Linked DNA regions of Homo sapiens: region 1 is linked to region 2. The links are contacts of gene promoters, found by promoter capture Hi-C in human tissues and cell types (Jung and others, 2019). All regions are on one chromosome and are shown on one strand. Each heading gives the region's core, a stretch centred on a gene start or on the middle of the fragment in contact. The rest is flanking DNA. Distances are from core to core; before and after follow the strand shown.

Region 1 (6,435 bases), core at 2,368-4,867, 58 kb after region 2:
AAAAAAAAAAGAAGAAGAATATGCGGTAGATACTGTTAGTATTATTCCCATATTACAAGTCAGAAGACTGAGGTGTAGAAAAATTAATTCATTTGCCAAAGGTGGCAGGTAAGCAAAGAAGCTGCAATTGTAACTCATGTCTACTCGTTTCCAGAGCCCTGGCAGAAGATTCCTTTGAGGCTATGAATTTCCAATGTTGCAAGACGCCAGCTCTCAAAGTGAATGGGAAAGGAAAGGGGTTACTGGAAGGATACGGAGATCTAAATGTTAGCTGTGGGCCGGGCGCTTTGGGAGGCTGAAGCAGGTGGATCACTTGAGCACAGGAGTTTGACACCAGCCTGAGCAACATGGCAAAATCCTGTCTACCAAAAATACAAAAATTAGCAGGGCATGGTGGCACACGCCTGTAATCCCAGCTACTTGGGAGGCTGAGGCAGGAGGATCTCTTGAACCCGGGAAACAGAGGTTGCAGTGAGCTGAGAGCATGCCACTGGACTTCAGCCTGGGCAACAGAGTGAGACACTGTCTCAGAAAAAAAAAAATGTTAGCTGTGGTTATCCGTGGGTGGTGAGATGATTTCCCAGATTTCCTACAGATTCATGTGACTTTTAGAGTAAGATCAATTTATAAAACATTTTATAAAAGGGTGGGCGTGTAGCTAGATAGACGTCCACACGGGCAGGTTATGAAGCTCTCTCCTCTCTTGGAGTCCCCAAGTGACTTGTCCCTGCGGAATCTGGAGGTCCCCACACAGACACACACCCATAATAAATGCGACAAGCAGTGCGTGACACCAGGCAGTGCCCGGCAAGCCTTTGATGGCTAATGGCTGTAGGTGAAGTTTCTGAAATGACTTGCTCTTGTCCTAGGGTGGCAGATGCAGTTACAAGGGACCCAGTGGGACAGGACAACGCTGTTCTTTATATTCAAGAAGTGCCCCCTTTGATTCATAGCTGGGGACCCCTCGCCGAGCGGGCCATCAGAGAGGCCACCGGTGGCGCCCCGGAGCTCGTCGTGGCGACTGGTCCAGCCTTGCGAAGGAGACCTGGTTACCATGGATACAGCAGGGCGGGGGCGGAGCCAAACCGGATCCCGGAAGTGGGTAATTAGTCTCATCTTCCCGCCACCTGCCTGCTTCCCCACCTCACACCCCATGGCTTCCAATCCTGTCGCTTTCCCCCTACCCCCTGCAGGCTTAGGTTTTCCTTGTCTTTAAAAGGCAGGAACTGGGGAGGAGTGGGTTGGCAAACAAAAAGAGAAATTTGGCAGCCCTACTTTAAAAAAAAAATTGTGGAATTGTTCAAACCTACAGAAAACTATAGGGAGTAAAATAAACACTCATGTACCCTCCACCTAGAATTAATATATGTTCACGTTTTTGCTTGGAGGTGTTTCTGATTTTGATCTTAAGAAACCCCCTTTTCGGGCCGGGCACAATGGCTCATGCCTGTAATCCCTGCACTTTGGGAGGCCAAGGCAGGCAGATCTCTTGAGGTCAGGAGTTCAAGACCAGCCTGGCCAAAAAGGTGAAACCCTGTCTCTATTAAAAATACAAAAATTAGCCGGCCGTGGTGGTGGATGCCTGTAATCCCAGCTACTCAGGAGGCTGAGGCACAAGAAACGCTTGAATCTGGGAGGTGGAGGTTACAGTGAGCCGATATCGCACCATTGCACTCCAGCCCGGGCGACAAGAGCAAGACCCTGTCTCAAAAAAAAAAAAAAAAAATTGGCGTTACACAATGTAAAGATGAATGGTAAATTCATGCTAATAATTTAGATTTCTGAGTTTTCTTTACTTAGAATGATAGTAGGGAGCAAATAAAAAATATTGTGACAAGTCAATAGAGAGACTGCAGAAAAAAGAAAAAAGCTTTATATGTTATTCATTTGTTTTGTTTTGTTTTGTTTTGTTTTTTTGAGACAGAGTCTCACTCTGTCGCCCAGGCTGGAGTGCAGTGGCATGATCTCAGCTCACTGCAACCTCCGTCTCCCAGGTTCAACCAATTCTCCTGCCTCAGCCTCCCGAGCAGCCAGGACTACAGGTGCGTGCCACCACGTCTGGCTAATTTTTGTATTTTTAGTAGAGATGGGGTTTCACAATGCTGGCCAGTCTGGTCCTGAACTCCTAACCTCAGGTGATCTACCTGTCTCAGCCTCCCAAAGTGCTGGGATTACAGGTGTGAGCCACCACACCCAGACACCATTTTGTTATGATTGAGTTTTAACAGTTCTTTGTATATTTGGAATACAAATCCTCTATCTGATATATGTTTTGCAAATATTTTCTCAGAGTCTTTGGCTTGTGTTTCCTTCTCTTAACCCTGGGTCATTTTGGAAAATCAGGGTAAAAATGGGTTAGGCCCACCAGTTAGGATGAGGGGAAGATAAACCAGTGATCTCAGGGGAATAGTCTGGACTGGAGAGGACTGGCTGGTAAAATTGGCCTCCAAAAAAACATGCCTGGCCCTTTTATCACATGGGAAAATATTGGGCTTCTTTTCCATTTCCAAGTCTTCTGGGTCTTTGGGGGTGAGGACTCTGCTACAGGGCCGGTTCCATAATTTGTGGAGTCCAGTGCAAAATGTAAATGCAGGCCTCTTGTTCAAAAAGCAGGAAAAATGTGCTGTTCAAAATACTAGGCTGGGTGCAGTAGCTCATGTCTGTAATCCCAGCACTTTGGGAGGCTGAGGCAGGAGCATCTCTTGAACTCAGGAGTTCAAGACCAGCCTGGGCAACATAGCAAGATCCCATCTTTAATTAAAAACAAACAAACAGGCCAGGCAAGGACCCAGACAATTGTGGGTTGTATTTTTAGTAGAGACAGGGTTTTGCCATGTTGGCCAGGCTGGTCTTGAACTCCTGACCTCAAGTGATCTGCCCGCCTCAGCCTCCCAAAGTGCTGGGATTACAGGTGTGAGCCACTGCGCCCGGCCCCAGGAATAGGTTTGATCCTCAGCTCCTGACCAAATCTAGGCTGCGGCTCAGCGCCCCATCCCATCCTGCCTATTCCCCGTCTTGCGAGTGCAGGACACCGATGGAGAAATCCCAGGGTAACTTAGCAAATAGGTGATCTGCCAAGGAAGGGAACAGGCAGGCCAGGGCAGTCCTAGCCACACTAGGAGGGGCAGAGCCCAGTCAACACCTGCTTAGGCTCAGGAGTGAGTAACTGGCCAGGAATGCAGGTTGCCAGAGGGCTCAGCTGCTATGAGATGCCAAAATCTTTCTCGCGGATGTTAATTTCCACCGTCTCAGGAAGTGGCTGCTGTTTTCACACTAACTCTGCCGCAGCCAGGGGGCTTTTCTAAGCCTCTCCATCTCACACTACACTGAAATCTCTTCAGACCAAATTAAAGCATCAAGGATCCACTTGTGAGATTTGAGATGGGTTCCCCCAAAGTGGTGAACCCCATTGGAGTCGCAATGAGAGCTGTTGTGTCTTGAGGCTCACTGACTCTTTGGGGGAAAAAGTCCTGATCTGTAGCAGTTGCTAATTTCCACAGTGTAAATACTCTCACGGTGGCCAATTTCAAGTAGATAACAAGTCGGACAAGAATCAGGCACAGGTTCTTTGTCAGAAGTTAGAGGGGAAGAGAGTGAACGTGGGGGAAAAGAGAGAGACTTTGGGGACAGACTTAGAGACTCAAGTTTGCGTCCAAACTCTCCCACCTGCCAGCTCAGACAACTCGTTTCTTCCTCCAAAGGCTTAGCTTTCTCCTATAGAAAACAGGGGCACTTGGCCGGGCATGGTGGCTCACACCTGTCATCCCAGCACTTTGGGAGGCCAAGGCGGGCAGATACTTGAGTTCAGGAGTTCAAGAGCAGCCTGGCCAACATGGCAAAACTCCGTCTCTACTAATAATACAAAAATTAGCCAGGTGCAGTGGCTCACACCTGTAATCCCAGCACTTTGGGAAGCTGAGGTGGGCAGATCACTTGAGGCCAGGAGTTCAAGACCAGCCTGGCCAACATGATGAAACCCCATCTCTACTAATAATACAAAAATTAGCCGGGTGTGGTGGCACGCAGCTGTAATCCCAGCTACTCAGAAGGCTGAGGCAGGAGAATCGCTTGAATATGGGAGGCAGAGGCTGCAGTGAGCCAAGATTGCACTCCAGCCTGGGTGACAAAGCGAGACCCTGTCTCAAAAAGAAAACAGGGACACTAACAATGCCTACTTCGTTGGATTACTATGGGCATGAAATTTGGGGCAGTTGCAATAGCAGTTGGCAACTGACCACCTCATATCTATTTCTTCTTCTTAACACTATCCTGGCTGGGTGCAGTGATTCATGCCTGTAATCCCAGCACTCTGGGAGGCTGAAGTGGGAGGACTGCTGGAGGCCAGGAATTCAAGACCAGCTTGGACAGCATAGCAAGACCCCATCTCTGCAAAAAATTTAAAAACTATGTTCACACCACTGCACTCCAGAGCCCAGGTAACACAGCATGACCCTGTCTAATATATATATGACATACTATGTATATACACATATATATTTATATATATGACATATTATATATACATATGTGTATGTCTATTTATATATGTGTGTATATAAATATATACATATATAATATGCCTTATATATAACATATATAATATGCCTTATATATAACATATATAAGATATATAAAACATATATGTCTAATATATATAATATGTGTGTATATAAATTTTTTTTTTTTTGAGACAGAGTTTCGCTCTTGTTGCCCAGGCTGGAGAGCAATGGCACGATCTCGACTCACCACAACCTCTGCCTCCCAGGTTCAAGCGATTCTCCTGCCTCAGCCTCCCAAGTAGCTGGGATTGCAGGCATGCGCCACCACGCCTGGCTAGTTTTGTATTTTTAGTAGAGATGGGCTTTCTCCATGTTGGTCAGGCTGGTCTCAAACTCCTGACCTCAGGTGATCCACCCACCTCAGCCTCCCAAAGTGCTGGGATTACAGGTGTGAGCCACCGTGCCTGGCTCTTTATATAAATTTTTTAAAAAACAAATACCCCAACTTTTCTGAAGATATTTACCCAAAGGTATCAGTCCAATGTGTTTGAGGAAAGCACCCTCCTCCTTCTCACTCTCATGACCCCTCCATACCAGGAGAGGAACATGTGGTCAAGGACTAAGCTCACTGGGACATCACGTTTTCTGGCAACAATGATTGGTTCAGAGACAGCCTGTGACCTCAGAGGGTCCAACTGGGGCAAAGCCTTGGATTTGTTTGGCGGTCAAGGGCACTCTCCTTCTTGCTGGCTGAAGACCCAGGAGAGTATAGCTTTGTGAACTGCTTGCTGCATTTGTCTGTGATCACAAAAAAAAAAAAAAGCATTTTTTTTTTTTGGCCAGAATCCTGGGATGCAGAGCTGAGACGTGGATGGTGGTAAAGTTGCGTGTATGTTTCACCAAGCCCTACCTGAAGCCAAAATGACTGCTGTGTGTTCACAGGCTTTCACGGATATGGTTCCGGGATTCTATTTATGGTAGTGATAGACAGTTTATTTTTAAAATAAATACATGTACGTTTGAAATGTGAGTCACTATAGTTTCTCTTTCTGCAATACATTTTCTTTCTGTGGAAATTTGATAATGTTTTCTGTCACTAGTAACAAAAGGTTCTTCCTGTATTGGTTTTCTCCTGTGTATTAGAGGGCTGCCATCACTCAATACCACAGACTGGGTGGCTTAAACAAAAGAAATGGACTTTCTCACAGCTCTGGAGGCTGGAAGTCCAAGAGCAAGGTGTAGACAGGCTCAGTTTCTCCCGAGGCCTGTCTCCCTGGCTTACAGATGGTCATCTTGTCACTGTGTCTTCAAATGACATTGCCTCTGCACGCAAACATCATGGTGTGCCCCTGTGTGTCCCTCAGTCCTCCTCTTCTTTTTTTTTTTTGAAATGGAGTCTCACACTGTCACCTGGGCTGGAGTGCAGTGATGCGATCTCGGCTCACTGCAACCTCCACCTCACGGGTTCAAGTGATTCTCCTGCCTTGGCCTCCCAAGTAGCTGGGATTACAGGCACGCATCACTACACCCAGCTAATTTTTTGTATTTTTAGTAGAGATGGGGTTTCACTATGTTGGCCAGGCTGGTCTCGAACTCCTGATCTCATAATCTGCCCACCTCAGCCTCCCAAAGTGCTGGGATTACAGGCATGAGCCACCGTGCCTGGCCCCTCATTCCTCTTCTTATAAGGACACCAGTCAGAAGGGATCAGGGCCCACCCTAATGACCTCATTTTAACTTAATTATCCTTTTAAAGGCCCTGTTTCCAAGCACACTCCCATTCTGACGTCCTGGAGGTTGGGACTTCAACATATAGGCCAGGCACAGTGGCTCACACCTGTGATCCCATCACTTTGAGAGGTCGAGCCAGGCGCATCGCTTGAGGCCAGGAGTTCGAGATCAGCCTGGGCAACATGGACAAACCCCATCTCTACGA
Region 2 (6,188 bases), core at 1,809-4,308:
GAGCTCACTAGTCAGGATTAGCTTAAAGGTTTTTTTTTAAACTTGGTCTAATATATCTTGGTCAAGAACCCACCTCAGCTAACGAGGATCAATAAACTCTTTTGGATGGAGAGACAAGCCCCTGAATATCTATGTCTGATTGTGCATCTTCCTTTCTTTTTTTTTTTTTTTTTTTTGAGACGGAGTCTCACTCTGTTGCCCAGGCTATGATGCAGTGGCACAATCTCGGCTCACTGTAAGCTCCGCTCCCTGGGTGCAAGCAATTTTCCTGCCTCAGCCTCCCAAATAGTTGGGATTACAGGCTCCCACCACCACGCACGGCTAATTTTTGTATATTTAGTAGAGAGGGAATTTCACCATGTTGGTCAGGCTGGTCTCGAACTCCTGACCTCAAGCAATCCACCCACCTGGGCCTCCCAAAGTGCTGGGATTACAGGTGTGATCCACTGCTCCCGGCCTGACTGTGCGTCTTTTCCACAGACTTTAACCCTAGGTACCCATTATTCATATGCAACACGTCAAAACATATACACCTATCCTACAAAGATCAGAATATGAAAGGAAAATTTGTAGCAAAAGTTGCTACAAATTACCAAATATTTCCTTATGCTATATGTATGTCAAGATTTGATATCTCTATTTACAGATTAACTTTTCTGATTGCTTTGTTCTACAACACCCCAACAAAATTCATTTTATAATTCATGACACCATAAAATTGTAAAAGAATGGAATAAAAACCGTGTAAGAAGTGTACAGGTGGCCAGGCGCGGTGGCTCACGCCTGTAATCCCAGCACTTTGGGAGGCTGAGGCGGGTGAATCACGAGGTCAGGAGTTCAAGACCGGCCTGGCCAAGATGATGAAACCCGTCTCTACTAAAAATACAAAAATTAGCCGGACATGGTGGCAGGGGCCTGTAGTCCCAGCTACACAGGAGGCTGAGGCAGAGAACTGCTTGAACTCGGAAGGGGGGGGTTGCAGTCAGCTGATATCGCACCGATGATGCACTCCAGCCTGGGTGACAGAGCAAGACTCCGTCTCAAAAAAAAAAAAAAAAAAAAAGTGTGCAGGCAGACATAGGTTCCTATAAAGAATCGATACTTCAAAATATATAAAAATCCAATTAAGTGTAAAGTCATCTGGAAATTTCTTGAATCCCCATCATATAAATACTCTTTACCTACTACACTATACTAGTGCTAACTTTCAATATCAATATCTTTAAATATCAACATCACCATCCTTCCACATAATCTTTCATTATTTCCCAGGCATTTCCTGTGACTCTTTCCGGGGTTGCCTATACACATCTGATAACATTTACTCTTCTTATCTATCGGATCAGAAAACAGAATTCACCTCACAAGTATTTGATCTAAGGCAGTAACAGAAATTTAGTGCTACATTATACGGTACAATGAGGACATTTAACGTTCAACTAAAGGGCACTCAATGACAAACCCTGATGTAGCTCTGGAAGCAATTACATGTAGCTTTCATCGTAGATTTGTTTGAAAAATATGTCTTTACTGGAGACAGTACATCCACATTCTGTACCCAATTAACATTATTCCAAAATAACTCTTGACCTCGAGAGTATTCCAAAACAGTTACAAGACTTAAAAAAAATCATACAACTAGGGGTATCTAAGACCTGGCTTTGGGGCTCTGCCTACAACGAAGCTGTGTCACCCTGGGTAGGTCATTTGACCCAACATGCCCAGTATCTCCTACTACGTAAAGAAGAAATTGGTCTAAATTTTCTTTAAGGTCTCTTCTAACTCTAACATTCTATGAATGTATGAAATTTCAATCTTTCCCCATTTCAAAGGTAATGGCGGCAGTCAATAACGCCAAGTTAGCCTAGATTTTTTTTTCCTTTTTAGAAAAATGACCCAACTTGGGATGTTTTCTTGGGTTGAAGTTTTATTTAGGAAAATAAACCCCAAATAAAAACGATGTTGAGAAAATGGGCGGGGGGGGAGAAAAGAAAATCATACACTGACGTTAGCTAAAATAGAAACTTCCATCACCCTTAAGCCAGTTTGTCAATAGTTATTCAACGCCTGCTACTCTAATCACTGGCTTCCTAAAATAGAAATATTTATAGTTGTTTCCTTCTCATCCCCGGAGATACATTCCGAATAAAAAGCACAGCGTCTAAAATCAATTTACAACTTCAGAATAAGTTGCAAGGAGCGAAAACAAACTCCGCACAGCTCGCCAAGTCATTTGCATTTAAGTATGATTAGGGCTAAGAAACGGTTCTTATGAGATGCGAAAAAAAAGCACAAGAGGCAGGTGACATCTGGAAAGGGAAGCTGAACTGCCAGGAAGCGATATAAGCTGAGGATCTTAAGGCAACAGGTCCAGGGCCGGCACCGCAGCCTATCCCGGGAGGGGTCGGTGGCTGCTACCTCGCCCGCCGCCCTCCCCAGCCCCAACGACGTCGCCTCGCTCCCGCCCCCCCAAATCCCACGCCCCTGCGGCAGAAATCTCCCTAATCACTCGCCTCCCTGGGCTTCCCGCCCCCGGCAGGCCCTCCGATTCCTCGGCGCCGAGGCCGGCCCGGCCCTGCCGCCCCCTCCCCTCCACGCCGAAGACCCCGCAGCCCCGTCCCCGCCGCGGGCCCGCTCACCTGCACCTGTTTGCGGAAGTGGCGCGGCCCCAGCACTGCCGGCGATCAGGAGGACCAGCAGCAGCAGCAGCAGCCTCCGCCGCAACGCCGGCGGCCCCGGCATCTCGCCCACGGCGCGGCTCCGGGGCCGGCCCTCGAGTCGCCTTCCGTCCGTCCGTCCGTTCGCCCGTCAGTCGATCCTGCCTCCCTCCGCTGCCTCAGTGGCACCCGCGCCGGTTGCTCCCGAGCACACGTTGCTTCTGCCAAACCTCGGTCCGGCTCCCGGTCCGCACCTGCCGCTCCAGTCGCAGAAACACCATCCTTCCCGCCCGCCTGCGCCGCCGCCGCCGCCTCTCAACAGCAGCAACGCCAGCAGCCCTGCGGAGCGGCGGGCCTGGGAAGCCGCGCTCCCGCCGCCATGATGGGCTGCGTCATGTGACGTAGCGCGGGGGCGGGATGTCGTGATGGACAGGGCGGCCAGCCACTCGTCAGTCCACACCGGCCCAGGAGGCCCCGCCCATCATCCTGAAGGAGTGAGCGGTGGCGGCCGGTGCGCCCCCTGCAGACGGAGGAGTGCGTGGGCAGCAGGTAACACCAACAATTATTTTAAATTGAAAAATACAGGAAAATGTAAAGAAGACCATGACAATCATCCTGATATTTTTTTCTCGGTGTTTTATAACATGCAAAAATAGGCCTGTCTTGTCTTCTGCCTTTTTTTTTTTTTTACTTGTCAGAGCTGTTTTAGGCTCTTCTCCTTAAGTTGACCTACACATCCTCTCAGCCATCAAACAGCTTTGGGCTTTTCACTTGAATTGATCAAGAGAATGCCTCTCTCGGCATCACCCACTGACTCACCTCCTGAGCTCAAGCTGTTGCCTCTTGTCCACCTGGCAGACACTCTTCCTTTCATCTGTCGAGACTCACCTGACATATGACTTCATCTATGACTCTCTAGGAGAAATGACTGTCATCTCCTTAGTGCCCCGCCCTGGCCCTGTGTGGACTGCTATCCTAGCTGCAGTATCCTATTGACCCGTGACTGTAAGCTCCCTGAGGACAGCAACTGTGTCTGATTCAGCTGGTGGGAAATCCCTGGTGCAGGACCTGGGTCGGAGCAGGTGTTCTCTAAAGCAATGGTGCATGGCCCTGGTCCCAGGTACCAGGGCAGAGCAGCTCCCAGGGGTGGCCTTCTCCCCACCAAGAGGTGAGGTGAGAACACAGTCCTGCAGAGAGGATAGAGAAAGCACTCTCCAGACACAAGTAATATAGTGGTCAGAGGCATGGGGGTTGGGAAAATGCTAAGCTTTTCTGGAGAGGCGCTATGGTTCAGTGTGTGCATGAGAGGAGCTGATTTCAATCTTATCAGATGAGACTTTGCCACCTGGCAACAGTGTAACCTCCCCAATTCTCCAAACTCCCCAAATGTCCATCCTAAATGCCAGCTGTCGATGATGTTAACACAGCACTGGACACACAGATGATGCCCAGGGAATATTTGTTGGATGATTGAGGCAAGCCAATAAATATCTAAGGAGACAAATACCTGGAACGAGAAACATTGAATTTAAAAGTCCATGGCTTGGCTGGGCACGGTGGCTCACACCTGTAATCTCAGCACTTTGGGAGGCCAAGGTGGGTGAATCACTTCAGACCAGGAGTTCAAGACCAGCCTGGCCAACATGGTCATACCCCATCTCTACTAAAAATACAAAAAGTATTAGCCAGACACGGTGACGCATGCCTGTAATCCCAGCTGCTTGGGAGGCTGAGGCAGGAAAATTGCTCGAACCCAGGAGGCGGAGGTTGCGGTGAGCTGAGATCACACCGCTGCACTCCAGCCTGGGCGACACAGCGAGACTCTGTCTTAAAAAAAAAAAAGTTCACGGCTTTCTGCTGATTATATGCAGAATTGGTAAGGAAGGCAAAGGTCTAGGAAAGAGACACAATCACCCTGTTGTACTTCTACTTCTTTTTTTTTTTTCTTTGAGACAGAGTCTGTCTCTGTCACCAGGCTAGAATGCAGTGGTGCGATCTCAGCTCACTGCAACCTCTGCCTCCTGGGTTCAAGCGATTCTCCTGCCTCAGCCTCCTGAGTAGCTGGGACTACAGGTGCCCGCCACCACACCTGGCTAATTTTTGTATTTTCAGTAGAGACAGGATTTCACCATGTTGGCCAGGATGGTCTCGATCTCTTGACCTCGTGATCTGCCCACTCCGGCCTCCCAAAGTGCTGGGGTTACAGGCATGAGCCACCGCGCCTAGCCTATACTTCTACTTCTATCAGGAAGCTTCTCACTTTGAGTTCAGAGAAGCCAGGGACACCCACACTGTGTACTGCAAGGAGGCTCGTGACTGCCTGCTGTAGTGCTGGCCTAAGGAAGGCCTTACCTGATAATCCTGGTAGTGGTTATTTACAACTAAAGTGCACTCCAACAGCACGTTGGACCACAATCCCAAAGTAGATTTTGCTATTATTTGAGCAAGCCCAAAAGTTAAAACAAACAAACAAATAAACAAACTTCTTTTCCTCTTTCACAGAACAGGGGTTACAGTGCACATCCCCCAGATGATGTCTAAAGGCAGCCTTTGCCCCACCACCCACCTCACCGTGTATGCCTTTACTCAATACTTGAAGACTTCCAGTTAGAGATGTTATTAAACAAACAAAAACCTGTTGGCTTTGTTTAGTTTCACCCAGAAGTCAGAAAACAGCCTTTAGCACAATTTGGAAATCAATACCTAAGATTAGAAGCAATATCTTTCAGTGTTTTACAGCCATTCTTTTTTTTTTTTCTTTTTTGAAACAGGGTCTCGCTCTGTCACCCAGGCTGGAGTACAGTGGTGTGATCTTGGCTCACTGCAACTTCTGCCTCCCATGCTCAAGTGATTCTCCTGCCTCTGCCTCCTGAGTAGCTGGGGTTACAGGCGCCCGCCACCACACCTGGCTAATTTTTGTATTTTTAGGAGAGACAGGGTTTCACCATGTTGGCCAGGTTGGTCTTGAACTTCTGACCTCAAGTGATCTGCCCACTTCGGCCTCTCAAAGTGTTGGGATTATAGGCATGAGCCACCACGCCCAGCCCTTTACAGCCATTCTTGCAAGTTTTCCTTCATGCCAAGCCTCTTTCAAGTTTTCCTTCATGCCAAGCTATCGCTTGGAAGACCCTCCTGCCAGTGTCTGTCCTGCCAGCAAGCTCTGGCTGAGGCCTGGATGCTGAAGGATGTGGAGTCAGCTTAGTATTGGATGAGCACTTCTGGAGCTCTGGCACCTAGCAGATACTCTAAAGGTTCACAGAGCTCAGCTGGATCAAATGGGGCACCCAGGAGGCCTGTTGGTGGGGTCCTGGAGCTGCTGGTGCCAACTCATGAAAGCCAATTGTTAACATGTTCAGGAATTATGCGCATTGGTTGTTCAACACAGCCATTGTTAAAATTTAAGTTATAGGCAGTGGCTCACGCCTGTAATCCCAGCACTTTGGAAGGCCTAGACAGGTGGATCACTTGAGGTCAGGAGTTCAAGGCCAGCCAGGCCAAGATGGCCTGGGCATGGTGGCTGGCACCTGTTAT

What was found. Contacts are between HindIII fragments. The study calls those that stand out against the background at their distance.
Region 1: a fragment that was not itself captured here is called in contact with the fragment with the promoter of LMTK2 in region 2 in 2 of the 25 tissues and cell types used here (H1 embryonic stem cells and thymus).

Annotation. Positions count from the first base shown.
Region 1 is chr7:98,045,954-98,052,388 of GRCh38, reverse strand. No RefSeq gene overlaps it. Among named protein-coding and RNA genes, the nearest start is that of LMTK2, 58 kb to the left of the region's middle. RefSeq lists enhancers at 3,084-3,584, 3,585-4,085. The HindIII fragment of the contact is 8,139 bases long and covers 1-6,435 here.
Region 2 is chr7:98,103,732-98,109,919 of GRCh38, reverse strand. It overlaps LMTK2 (lemur tyrosine kinase 2), which reads right to left and starts at 3,058. Exons shown (of 14, transcript NM_014916.4): 1 at 2,640-3,058. The coding sequence starts at 2,742. The HindIII fragment of the contact is 4,738 bases long and covers 1-4,417 here.